Regions from separate parts of the Homo sapiens genome. Here region 2 is linked to region 1. Evidence: promoter capture Hi-C in 16 types of primary human blood cells and fetal thymus (Javierre and others, 2016). All regions are on one chromosome and are shown on one strand. The core of a region is centred on a gene start or on the middle of the fragment in contact, and the rest is flanking DNA. Distances in the headings are between cores, read along the strand shown. Region 1 holds the start of ABCA3 (ATP binding cassette subfamily A member 3). Region 2 overlaps MEIOB (meiosis specific with OB-fold).

Region 1 (5,366 bases), core at 2,735-5,234:
TTGCAACTCATAGTCTGTATTGTCTTCAATTGCTGTATCTTTGCTTCTAACAACATATTGTTGGGCACTCTGAATTCTATTAAAGTATAGATGGTGGCTTATTCACATTTTTATTTCAAGTTTCATCTGGCATATAGTAAGCACACAGTGAAAACTAAATCGAATTAAGCAACTCTGTTTTGTGAGATCCTTCAAAACACATAAATTTCATTTGTTGGGCCGGGTGCAGTGGCTCATGCCTGTAATCCCAGCACTTTGGGAGGCCGAGGTGGTGGATCACCTGAGGTCGGGAGTTCGAGACCAGCCCGATCAACATGAAGAAACCCCGTCTCTACTACAAATACAAAATTAGCCAGGCATGGCAGCGCATGCCTGTAATCCCAGCTACTTGGGAGGCTGAGGCAGGAGAATCGCTTGACCCCGGGAGGCGGAGGCTGCAGTGGGCCGAGATTGCGCCATTGCACTCCAGCCTGGGCCACAAGAGTGAAACACCGTCTCAAAAAAAAAAAATGTTCATGCGTTTGTTTCCAAAGCATACAGTATAATGCTTAGATCACTTATTGAGCCCTTGCCGAATGCCAAGGACTTTTCTAAGTCCTGTACTTTACATGTTTTAATGCATCTAATCCTCACAACAATTCTGTGAGGAATTGTTATACAATCCTCATTTTATACTAGGAAACCAAGGCACAGAAAGGTCCAGTAATTTGCCTAAAGACATTAAGAGCTGGAATTTAATCTGAGGCAATATGGCCAGAGTTCAGTTTTAACCATTACAATATAATGCTTCCCAATCACTGAATGAAAGAATATGTGTACAGCCCTTGGTCTACAATGCGTCTCTGAATTATAACATCATTCCCAGGGAAACAATCAAAGAAGCCCTATTCTAAGATACTGTATTGAATATCAGCAATTTGGGTACTGTTGTACGATACAATAGATAGACAGATAGATAGATAGATAGATAGATAGATAGATAGATAGATAGATAGATAGATAGGGTATAGTATTTGTACCCCTTCAAAGAATTGGGAGCTTATTGGTTTAATTATATCTAGCCGACTAGTATAATGGCTAGGTTTACTGCCTTTTGTGAAGCTGTAAGATTTGTTTATGAGTGTCACCATCCACTATAATGTTTACCATCAATCTTGAGAGAAAAGAAATGTTTGAACCATAGTAACTTCAAGGAGTGTATCCTTCAATTTCTCAGCATGTATTCATGGTATATGGATGTGAGTGTTTCCATATAAGAGAGGGGTAGAGTCCAGGAGCCTGAACACGGAGGTTGTCATCTCAGCTCTACTGGGTGACTCTGAAGAAATTATGACCTTATCTGGGCCTCCATCTGGAAAGAAATGACTAGGTGGAGCATCTAGGTTTGCTTTATTTTTTCAGTAGTGGGCCTTGAGCACAATGTGATGAATTATCCAGGGATTGTTGAAGGGCATCAAAAGGGTCCAGCTCACTGTGGGCAACTGTTTTTTAACAGTTCAGAGCCTGAAATTTTTGGGCATAAGATACTTTTCCCAGTGGCCTTCACACCCTCCCACCTCATGATTGTGATTATAATAATTAACAATTAACCTGGCAGAGTTAAGAAAAAAGATATAAAATTAGTACCCTGCAATTGTCTGTCTTGATCTGTAAGGTCATCCTTCTTCCAAAATTCCTACCCTATCTTCCATCTAAGGTAAATTCTGAGTCAGCCAGTTCTGGTACTGGATTTGGTTACAGAGAATTGGGATCCAGTTTTGAAAAGGCCGGAAAAACGTGCAAGGTCTAACAAATTCAATTTGGAAATGGCAAGGATTGGTTTTGGAAAGAAAAATGACTGAGGATATGACCGGGTGAAGACAGGGCCAAGCAGCCAAGTTCACATCATTTTCTGGGACGAAGCAGAGAATGGGGAAGACATTTTGGATGGGGTGTTGCAGTCTGTGAAGACTGATGGGGAAAGGGGGTTTTTAGGATGTTTGCAGCGCATTAATAATCCACTCCCCCACCCATCCTGTAACTGCATTCAATTGTTTGGGGTTTTTTTTCCCCCTGTATGCTCATTACGGAGACTAGGCTATGTAAATCCCTAGCTATACTCACATTATATACTACCATTTATTTGGCATTTATGTGTCAGGTATTGTAGTAAGCACTTAAACATGCATTTTCTCATTTGACCCAAAAAAGAAAAGAATACACCAACAAAAAACCTTTGAGTTTGCTATTATTATTAATTACTATTATTATAATTTCAATTTTAGGGATAGGAAATTGAGACTCAGAAAGATAAAATGACATGTCTACATTAATTGGTGGGTCAAGATCTGAAGCCAGGTCTCTGTGATTCCACTGAACAAATTATTTAGCATGAGCCTCCTCCGCCCCAGGCACTCTAGGACCCTGGATCTAGGCATGAACCTGACGAAGTCCCTTTGCTCGCGGAATGGGCTATCCAGAACATCATCAGAGTGAAAGGTGCTATGTACACAGTAAAATGGGGAACGAGCCGCTCAAACCCTACTCCATCAGGACTCTTGGGGGTGGGCGATTTCCGCCCCCGGCCCGGGGCGTTGCATTAGGTCGGGGCCGTCGGGTCGTGGTGCCGGCGGCTGGCTGGGCGCGGGGCTGGCGGTGCGGGTCGCAGGCGGCTCCCAGCGGCAGGACCGGCAGCAGCCCTCCCTCACCCGGGGCGCCGGGACCACGGACGCACCTCACTGTGGTCCGGCCGCTGGCGGCGCTCGGGGACCCATTGGCCCCGGCCCGCGGCAACTGTCGGCCCCGCGCGGCGCCCGCCCTCATGCTGGAGCCCGGGAGTCCCTCACTCCACCTCTCCCTGCCACGCCAAGGGGGCCCGCCCCTCCCAGGCTCTCCTGCCTGGGGCGACCCAGTCCCACGACCCGGTCCGGCCCAGGGACACCCCGACCCACCTCCCCACTCCCGTCCCGTTAGACCGCGACCCGTCCCTGGGACCGCCTAATGTGACACGCCCGGGACCCTCCCTGCAGGCGACTCCCTGCAGGGCCCCCGCCCTGGACACTCCCTCCAGGTGACCCCGTTCCGCTCGCTCCGTGAGGTGACCCCGACCCTCTCCGGACCACCTCCTCAGGTGACCCCGACCCTCTCCGGACCCTCCCCGACCCTCCCCTCAGGTGAACCCGACCCTCCCCGGACCATCCCGTCGGGTGACCCCAACCATCCCCGAACCCCCCCACCCTCCCCTCAGGTGACCCCGACCCTCTCTGGACCCTCCTCACAGGCGGCCCCGCCCCACCCCGGGACCCTCCCGCCAGGTGACCCCGACAAGGCCGGGCCCTCCTGCCTGAGGTGACTCCTACCCGGCTGGGGACCCCCGAGGCCTCCCTCGCTCCTTAAGTGAGGGCGACTCCGCTCATCCCGGGACACCGCGCCTTCTCCTGTAAACTCGACGCCTGCCCCGACGGCCGAATTCCAGAAGGTTCCTCGCCGCCGCCTCGCCTTCGGTCGCGCCCCAGCGCCCGGCCAGAGGCGGGGAAGCCCTTCCCCCGGTGCCAGGAGTGACGAGGGCCCAAGGAAAGACAGTGCGTGAGGAGAAATGGAGAAACGGCCAAAGTCGAGTTTCCGGGTGTGAAGACTTCCACTGCTGCGAAACGCACGTGCGCAGAGTCATTCCTGTCAGAGGCCACCGCGCCCTCGCTCGGCTACCGCCGCTGCGCGCCCCCTGCTGGACATAGGCGCGGGCACAGAGCAGTGCGCAAGCACGGGCTGCCGCGCGGCCGGGTGCGAACCGCGTACTCGCAGGGTGGCTGACTGCGCACGCGCAAGTCAGAGCGCCCTCTGCCGGGCATGGGCGACATGCAGGGGGCACCGCGCAGGCGCGGGGTTGGGCTGGCCGGAGCGGCCGAGGCGGCCGGGGGTGGACCGGGCACCTGCAGGGGCGGCCGACTGCGCACGCGCCATCCGCGGCGCCCCCTGCAGGAGCCGGAGCGGCCGCTGCGTCCGCCAGTAGCGGGTTGCAGGCGCACCCTCCCCTCCAGGGCGGCCACGCAGCTGTCAGTGCCGCCGCCACTGCGAGGCTGGAGCGGAGCCCGGGTGGCCGAGGGAGGGGACCCCGCGAGAGGGCCGCGCGCCGGCCGCCGCCGCCCCGGCGCCCAGGCTCGGTGAGTGCCGCCGGGACCCGCCGCTCGCGCGCTCGTTCCCGGGGCTTGCGGTCCCCACCCGGGTCCGCCCTTCCCACCCTCGCCGGCCAGCTCGGGCCTCGGGCCCCCCCCAGCTCCGGCCTGGCCTGCGGGCCCCTCCCGCGACCCCGCATCCCCTCCGGCCGCGCCCGCGCCCGCCCCTCCTGCCGCGGCCTCGGCTCCGGGCGCTCCCTGCAGGTGCCGCTCCCTCAGCGTCGGCTCCCATCCGAGCCTTGGGCGTGTCCCGCACTGCGGGCAGTGCCTGAGCCCGCGCCGCGCGGGGAAGCTCGACCCTGCGGAGACTCGGCACGGCCCGGGCCCTCTGTGTGCGCCCAGAAGGTGGATATGTAGCGACCGACAGCCCCGGCCCCGAGGGATGCAGGCGTCCGCCGCGCACTTGCGGAGATGGCGCCGCTTTCCGGCCGCAGGGATGCCGGGCGCGCGGTGGCAAAGCCGCCCGGGTTGGATTCCGCCTGCTCCCACCCTCTGGTTCCGAGGAGCCTCCAAATCCGAATCCAAGGCCCACGGTCCGCGGCGGGCGTTTGCTGCGCCCTCCACTGTGTGGGAACGGGAAAGGGGAGCCGCTAGTCCAGGCGGAGGGGCTTGTGGCAGTCGCCGGAGGCCGCGTTCTCGGCGCCCTCGGTCAGGACGCCTGTGTGCATCGCGTCCGTGTGTCTTGGCTCTGTTCCAAGCCGGCTCCACGCTTCAGAAGGGCCGGGACGGCCTTATGGTCAGGGGCGTGGGGAAGGCGCTTGGTGTCTGTCGCACAGATGAAGCCATGTCCTCAGGGGGTAATTGCCGCTTGTTCTCCGGGTTACGTCCTGGACTGTGCACTCCGGGAAGGCGTCGATTGGATCTTGTTGGGGTTTGTGTTCCTGGAACTCCAGAAATGCCCGCTGAGTGAGTAGCCGAGACCCCGCGACAGCATGGAGCCCAGGCAGGGAGCACGTGGGAGAGGTTCACTCTTCTCCTGGGCATCCCGTCATTTTATTCAGATAGTCTGGGCGCTGCCTTTTGTAAACTTGAAAAGACTAAGACTGTTTTAGAAAGTTTGCCTCATGAGAAATGTAAGAGAAAGGGAAAAATAGATAAAAATGGATGTCATGGGAATCTCCCCCACACTTTCATTTTTAACTTCTTAGATAATTTTTCTTTTAAATTGAACCTTTGCTAACTCTACCTGAAAAACAGGACGACGTCTCTCCCTTC
Region 2 (5,366 bases), core at 1,918-4,417, 480 kb after region 1:
AACATTGACTTACATCATGGCTTTGAGAAAATTTCTTAATCTTGTTGGGTCTCAACTATGAAATAATACCTCATTAGGTTCTTGTAAATATTAAATGAGATGGTGTACCTAGTATAACGTGTGGAACTTAGTCACTCAACAGATAACTTTTATGAGCCCTAGCCTCATAAAAGGAACAAGAAAGCATGTATACTAGTTCTTCACGATAGAAAAAGAGAAAAGAGTAATGCAGGTAATGAAAACACTCCTCTTTAATACTGTGGTCTCAAGCAGCTGACTCCCCATACCGGTTATTTAGAACCTAATCATATATTGCCTTGTATTGTTAACTTTCAGGACAATGTATGGTATCTCTCTAGTTGAATAATAGGGTCATTGAACATATGGACTATGAAGGCAGAAAGCTTCACAAACTTCATAGGGCCCAGTATAGCTATAGACATCCCTTGAATAAATGCTGGAATATTAGTTACATATGGAGATAAAGATTTCAATTTTGACATCTCAGTATCAAAATATGTTATATGTTGATGATGGAGAAGATGAATGAGGTGAGGAATTTTTAAAGCCTAGAGTCGATGATGATCATAAATTAAACAGGATGTTATTTAGGATGTTAGTGTTTATCTTGTTACTGTTTTGTAATATCATCATACTTTGCCCTCTGTTTTAGTGATAATTGAAAATCCTCTGATCCAAAGAAAGGAAATAGAAAGAGAAGAAAAATTCAGCCCTGCAACTCCTAGGTAAGCATCTGTCTAGCACAGAGATTGTGCGAGAATGATCATTACTAATAATGTTGTATCAGATTAGCAGAGATCTTACTAAAAGTGTTCTGTTTCTATTTCAATAAAAATGAGGAGTTTAATTTTCTCTTACAAAATTCATCTTTGATTATGACATAATTTACTTTGATACAGAGTCACATGATAAATGGCTTTGGTTTTAGTACTTTGATTCTCATTCTTAGATTTACAAAAATTTGACTTTGTCATGTTAAAACTGAATGAGGAGAAAAGATAAACTTTGGAAATTACATCTGTCTTTTTTCATGTCAAGGTATCCTTCTACTCACAGGCTTACCATCTTAGGGCAGATTCCTTCGAAGCAGAGCTTGAGAGGAGGACTCTTGTGGGAGTGGTTGGTTGAGGGTGAGCTCTCAGGGGAACCCTGCGAGGATAGACCAGGAAGCAGCTGAGCAGAGAAGTGGGTTCACCTGGAGCCTCAGCAGGAGCCGGGAGGGAGCTCTGGAGTGGGAGTGGCCCCTTAGAGCAGTGCCCTGGCTGTAGTCCATCCACTCCCCAAACCCGCAGGATGGGGCGGGGCATCAGCTCAAAGGCGGGTCTGGCAGTTCTGGAGAGAAGGGTGTAGCTGTGCCCTGTACCAGCCTGTAAAGGGCTCTTGGTGGGCACAGCAGTCTACAGCATTTACACTCGCATCAACTGTGACCCGTTCCCACCTTCTTTTCTGACCTCATCTTATGCCAGACTCTCAAGCCTCATTTCTCTGTAGCCACAGTGAATTTCTTTATATTTCATGAACACCGTGAACTCATTCTGCACTAAGAACGTTTGTATTTCCTTTTATTTTTATTTTTTATTTTTTACTGAGACAGAGTCCCACTCTGTTGCCCAGGCTGGAGTGCAGTGGCACGATCTCGGCTCACTGTAACCTCTAACTCCTGGGTTCAAACCATTCTCCCACCTCAGCCTCCCAAGTAGCTGTGATTACAGGCACACGCCCCACACCCAGCTAATTTTTGTATTTTTAGTAGAGGCGGGGTTTTGCTATGTTGGCCAGGCTGGTGTCGAACTCCTGACCTCAAGTGATCCGCCCGCCTCGGCCTCCCAAAGGGCTGGGATTACAGGCGTGAGCCACCGCGCCTGGCCAAACTTTTGTATTTTCTATTCTCTCTCTGCATAGAACTTTCTCCCATCTGTTTGACTATTTGCTTCTTTGGGTTATTGACTCACAGCTTAAATGTCATCTTCTTCAACCTTCCCCATCTACTCTGTTTGTGGTAGCGCTAATGGTCAATTACTGGGATTTTGCCCTGGCTTTTGTCAGCATAACCCAAGTCACCGTCTGAGATTGTTTGATTCATTGTTCTTGGGTCTCCCCCTCACATATGTGAGCCTCATGAGATCAAAGGTCTTGTCTGCCTTCTTCACCACCATATCCCTTGTGCCTAGCATAGGGTCTGGTATATAACAGATTCTCAGTATTCATGGAAGTGATGGATGGATGGTTAGATGGAGAGAATATTCTTGGTAGAGGGAAGAAACAGGAAACCTCCTGTCTTTTCCAGAACAGTTAATATTAGTTTGAGCCATATGAAACTGCTGATGTTTTACTATTTTTCATCTAGAAATACCAATTTCATAATGTAATAGTCTGATACGGCTGGAATGCAGGGCACGGGCAGGAGGAGAAGCTTAAGGTGGAAGCAGAGATATTTTACAGACAGCTTTGCTTTCATACTGAGTTATTTCCTTTGTGACTGGTAGCCACAATGATGGTCTTTGAGCTGGGAAATAATATTTTCATATTTGTGGTTTAGGAAGATCACTTTGCTTATGGAGGATGGACTGTAGGGGAATGAAGCTTAGTTAGGATAGCAAGGCAGTGGCTTGGGAGAGAAGTGATGAGGTAGGTAAGTGAGGCCGAGCAGTGGGGAGGAGGTGGGGCTGGGTTAGAGGACTGCTGGGGCACAGAGTGCAAGGGCCGGGAGGGACTCGGTGCAGGAGGGAGAGCTCCTCAGTTCGGGCTCACTGTGCCAGTGTTCTGCGTCTGCTCCATGCAGAGCTCAGTAGGGGTAGGAAAAACACAGTCCCTGACCTGAGGCACTAAGGCAGAACAGCCAGGTCCATAAGAGAGAGAAACAACCAGTCCTTGGGTTTGTATAACCCCTGAAAGTTTCAGAGCGCTTTTTTGCTCCTATTTTTTTGGAGAAGGAAACAAGCGCAGAGTCTTGGGCAAGATCAGACAAATGGTATGTTTAGAACCCCGACACGAATCAATTCTCAAAACATTTCCTTAATGAAAGTGCACTGTAAACAAAAAATGTTTTGCTGTATTATTCAATGTTTCTAAGAGTAAAAAGTATATATTAGTATTGTCTAAATTTCAATGAAAAATGTAGTTTAAATGTGGACCTGGAAATATTTTTCTTTCCAAAGATCACTTTCAAATAACTTTCTTGTGTTTTTGCAATTTAGCAACTGTAAACTGTTGCTCAGTGAGAATCACTCAACAGTAAAAGTTTGTTCCAGTTATGAAGTGGACACAAAGTTACTTTCTTTGATACATTTACCTGTTAAAGAGTCTCATGATTATTATTCACTGGGTGACATTGTTGCAAATGGACACAGTCTTAATGGGAGGATTATTAACGTGCTTGCAGCTGTGAAATCGGTAAGTTAAAACCCCGACAAAGCCAAGTGCAATCTGGCAGGGGAGGTGCAGTCACTTGATCTGTGTTTGGGATGGAGTGGTCACGATCAGCTGGGGTAACTTTTCTTCTCTATCTTGGTAGTATGCTGAATTAAGAAAACAGTAACACTTCTCATTAAAGGGAAACTAGCTTTTTATCTGTGGATGAGTAGTAAAATAAAATTGTATTTGAATGCTAAATGCAGTGTTCCACTCTGCTCGTAAATGATCTGCTAACTATAGGAGAACTTTTTATACATTGCTTAAACAAAGATGTAAATGGAAAGGGTAAGCTTATTGACTCGAAAATCTCCATGACCTTCCTTGAAGGGGCGTAGTTGAATAAGTTAAGGGATCAGTTCTGTGCCTTTGTGCTCAGAGCTGCCCAGCAACCAGGGAGGGAGTGGGAATACACGCTGCCCTGCTGTAGGGCTCCATGGTCTAATAGGTGCAGTGGGACCATGCTGGTGAGGTGCACGGGAGGATGGCCCTCCGTGGGGCACCAGGGGGGTGTTCCCTTCTGGTGCATCAGCGTCTGTCTGAATTACTGTAGCAAGTTCTGAGCTCTGTAGTTGGACAGACCAGAGCCACAAGGCGGAGATTGAGATGTAGACCTCAACGGTAAAGTTTCACAAAATAAAGTACATGAAAATTAGTCCAGGCACAGTGGCTTACACCTGTGATCCTAGCACTTTGGGAGACCAAGGCAGAGGGATCACTTGAGCCCAGTTCAAGACCAGCCTGGGGCAACATGGTGAAACTCCATCTCTACAAAAAATACAAAAATTAGCCGGATGTGGTGGTGTGTACCTGTAATCTCAGCTGCTTGGGAGGCTGAAGTGGGAGGATCACCTGAGCCTGGGAGGTTGAGGTTGCAGTGAGCCAAAATCATGCCACTGCACTCCAGCCTGGGCAATAGAGGGAGACCCTGTCTCAAAAAAAAAAAAAAAAAAAAAAGGCCTGGCGTGGTGGCTCATGCCTGTAATCCTAGCACTTTGGGAGGCTGAGGCGGGTGGATCACAAGGTCAGGAGTTCGAGACCAGCCTGGCCAATATGGTGAAACACCATCGCCACTAAAAATACAAAAATTAGCTGGGTGGCCTGGTGCGGTGGCTCACGCCTGTAATCCCAGCACTTTGGGTGGCTGAGGCGGGAGGATCACGAGGTCAGGAGATCGAGACCATCCTGGCTAACACGGTGAAACCCCGTCTCTACTAAAAATACAAAAAATTAGCCAGGTGAGGTGGTGGGCGCCTGTAGTCCCAGCTACTCAGGAGGCTGAGGCAGGAGAATGGCGTGAACCCGGGAGGCAGAGCTTGCAGTGAGCCAAGATTGCGCCACTGCACTCCAGCCTGGGCGACAGAGCGAGACTCCGACTCAAAAAAAAAAAAAAATTAGCTGGGCATGGTGACAGGTTCCTGCAGTCCCAGCTACTTGGGAGGCTGAGTCAGGAGAATCACTTGAACCTGGAAGGTGGAGGTTGCAGTGAGCCGAGATCGTACCACTGCCCTCCAGTCTGGGCGACAGAACGAGACTCCGTCTCAAAAAAAAAAAATTAGCTGGGCATGGTGGCAGGTACCTGGAGTCCCAGCTACTCAGGAGGCTGAGGCAGGAGAATTACTTGAACCCAGGAGACAGAGGTTGCAATGAGCTGAGATGGCGCCACTGCACTCCAGCCTGGGCGACAGAGCGAGATTCTGGGTTGATAAATAAATAAATAAAGAGGCAAGAGTAATTTCTTAATATAGAGAGGGATGATAGTCAAGAGACAAAAAAAAAAAAAAAGGAAAAAACACACATGCTTATGATAGTTCATGTAAGTAAATGTGAATTGCTTGTTATATTAAATGGTGACTGAGAGAACGTGACCCTTTCAGATGGCAGGGCCCTGGCTGTGGAGGACATGCCTGCCACCTGGGGAGCATCTGTATACT

The links. The method cuts DNA at HindIII sites, captures the fragments that hold promoters and counts their contacts. A CHiCAGO score of 5 or more calls a contact.
Region 2: a contact is called between a fragment that was not itself captured here and the fragment with the promoter of ABCA3 in region 1, in 1 of 17 cell types (M2 macrophages). The highest score is 5.1, in M2 macrophages.

The regions. Positions count from the first base shown.
Region 1 is chr16:2,339,346-2,344,711 of GRCh38, reverse strand. It overlaps ABCA3 (ATP binding cassette subfamily A member 3), which reads left to right and starts at 3,984. Exons shown (of 33, transcript NM_001089.3): 1 at 3,984-4,139. It also overlaps the pseudogene ABCA17P. RefSeq lists silencers at 3,674-4,133, 4,304-4,363. The HindIII fragment of the contact is 6,638 bases long and covers 1-5,366 here.
Region 2 is chr16:1,855,783-1,861,148 of GRCh38, reverse strand. MEIOB (meiosis specific with OB-fold) reads left to right here. Exons shown (of 14, transcript NM_001163560.3): 5 at 674-746; 6 at 3,219-3,414. Among named protein-coding and RNA genes, the nearest start is that of MEIOB, 14 kb to the left of the region's middle. The HindIII fragment of the contact is 1,121 bases long and covers 2,607-3,727 here.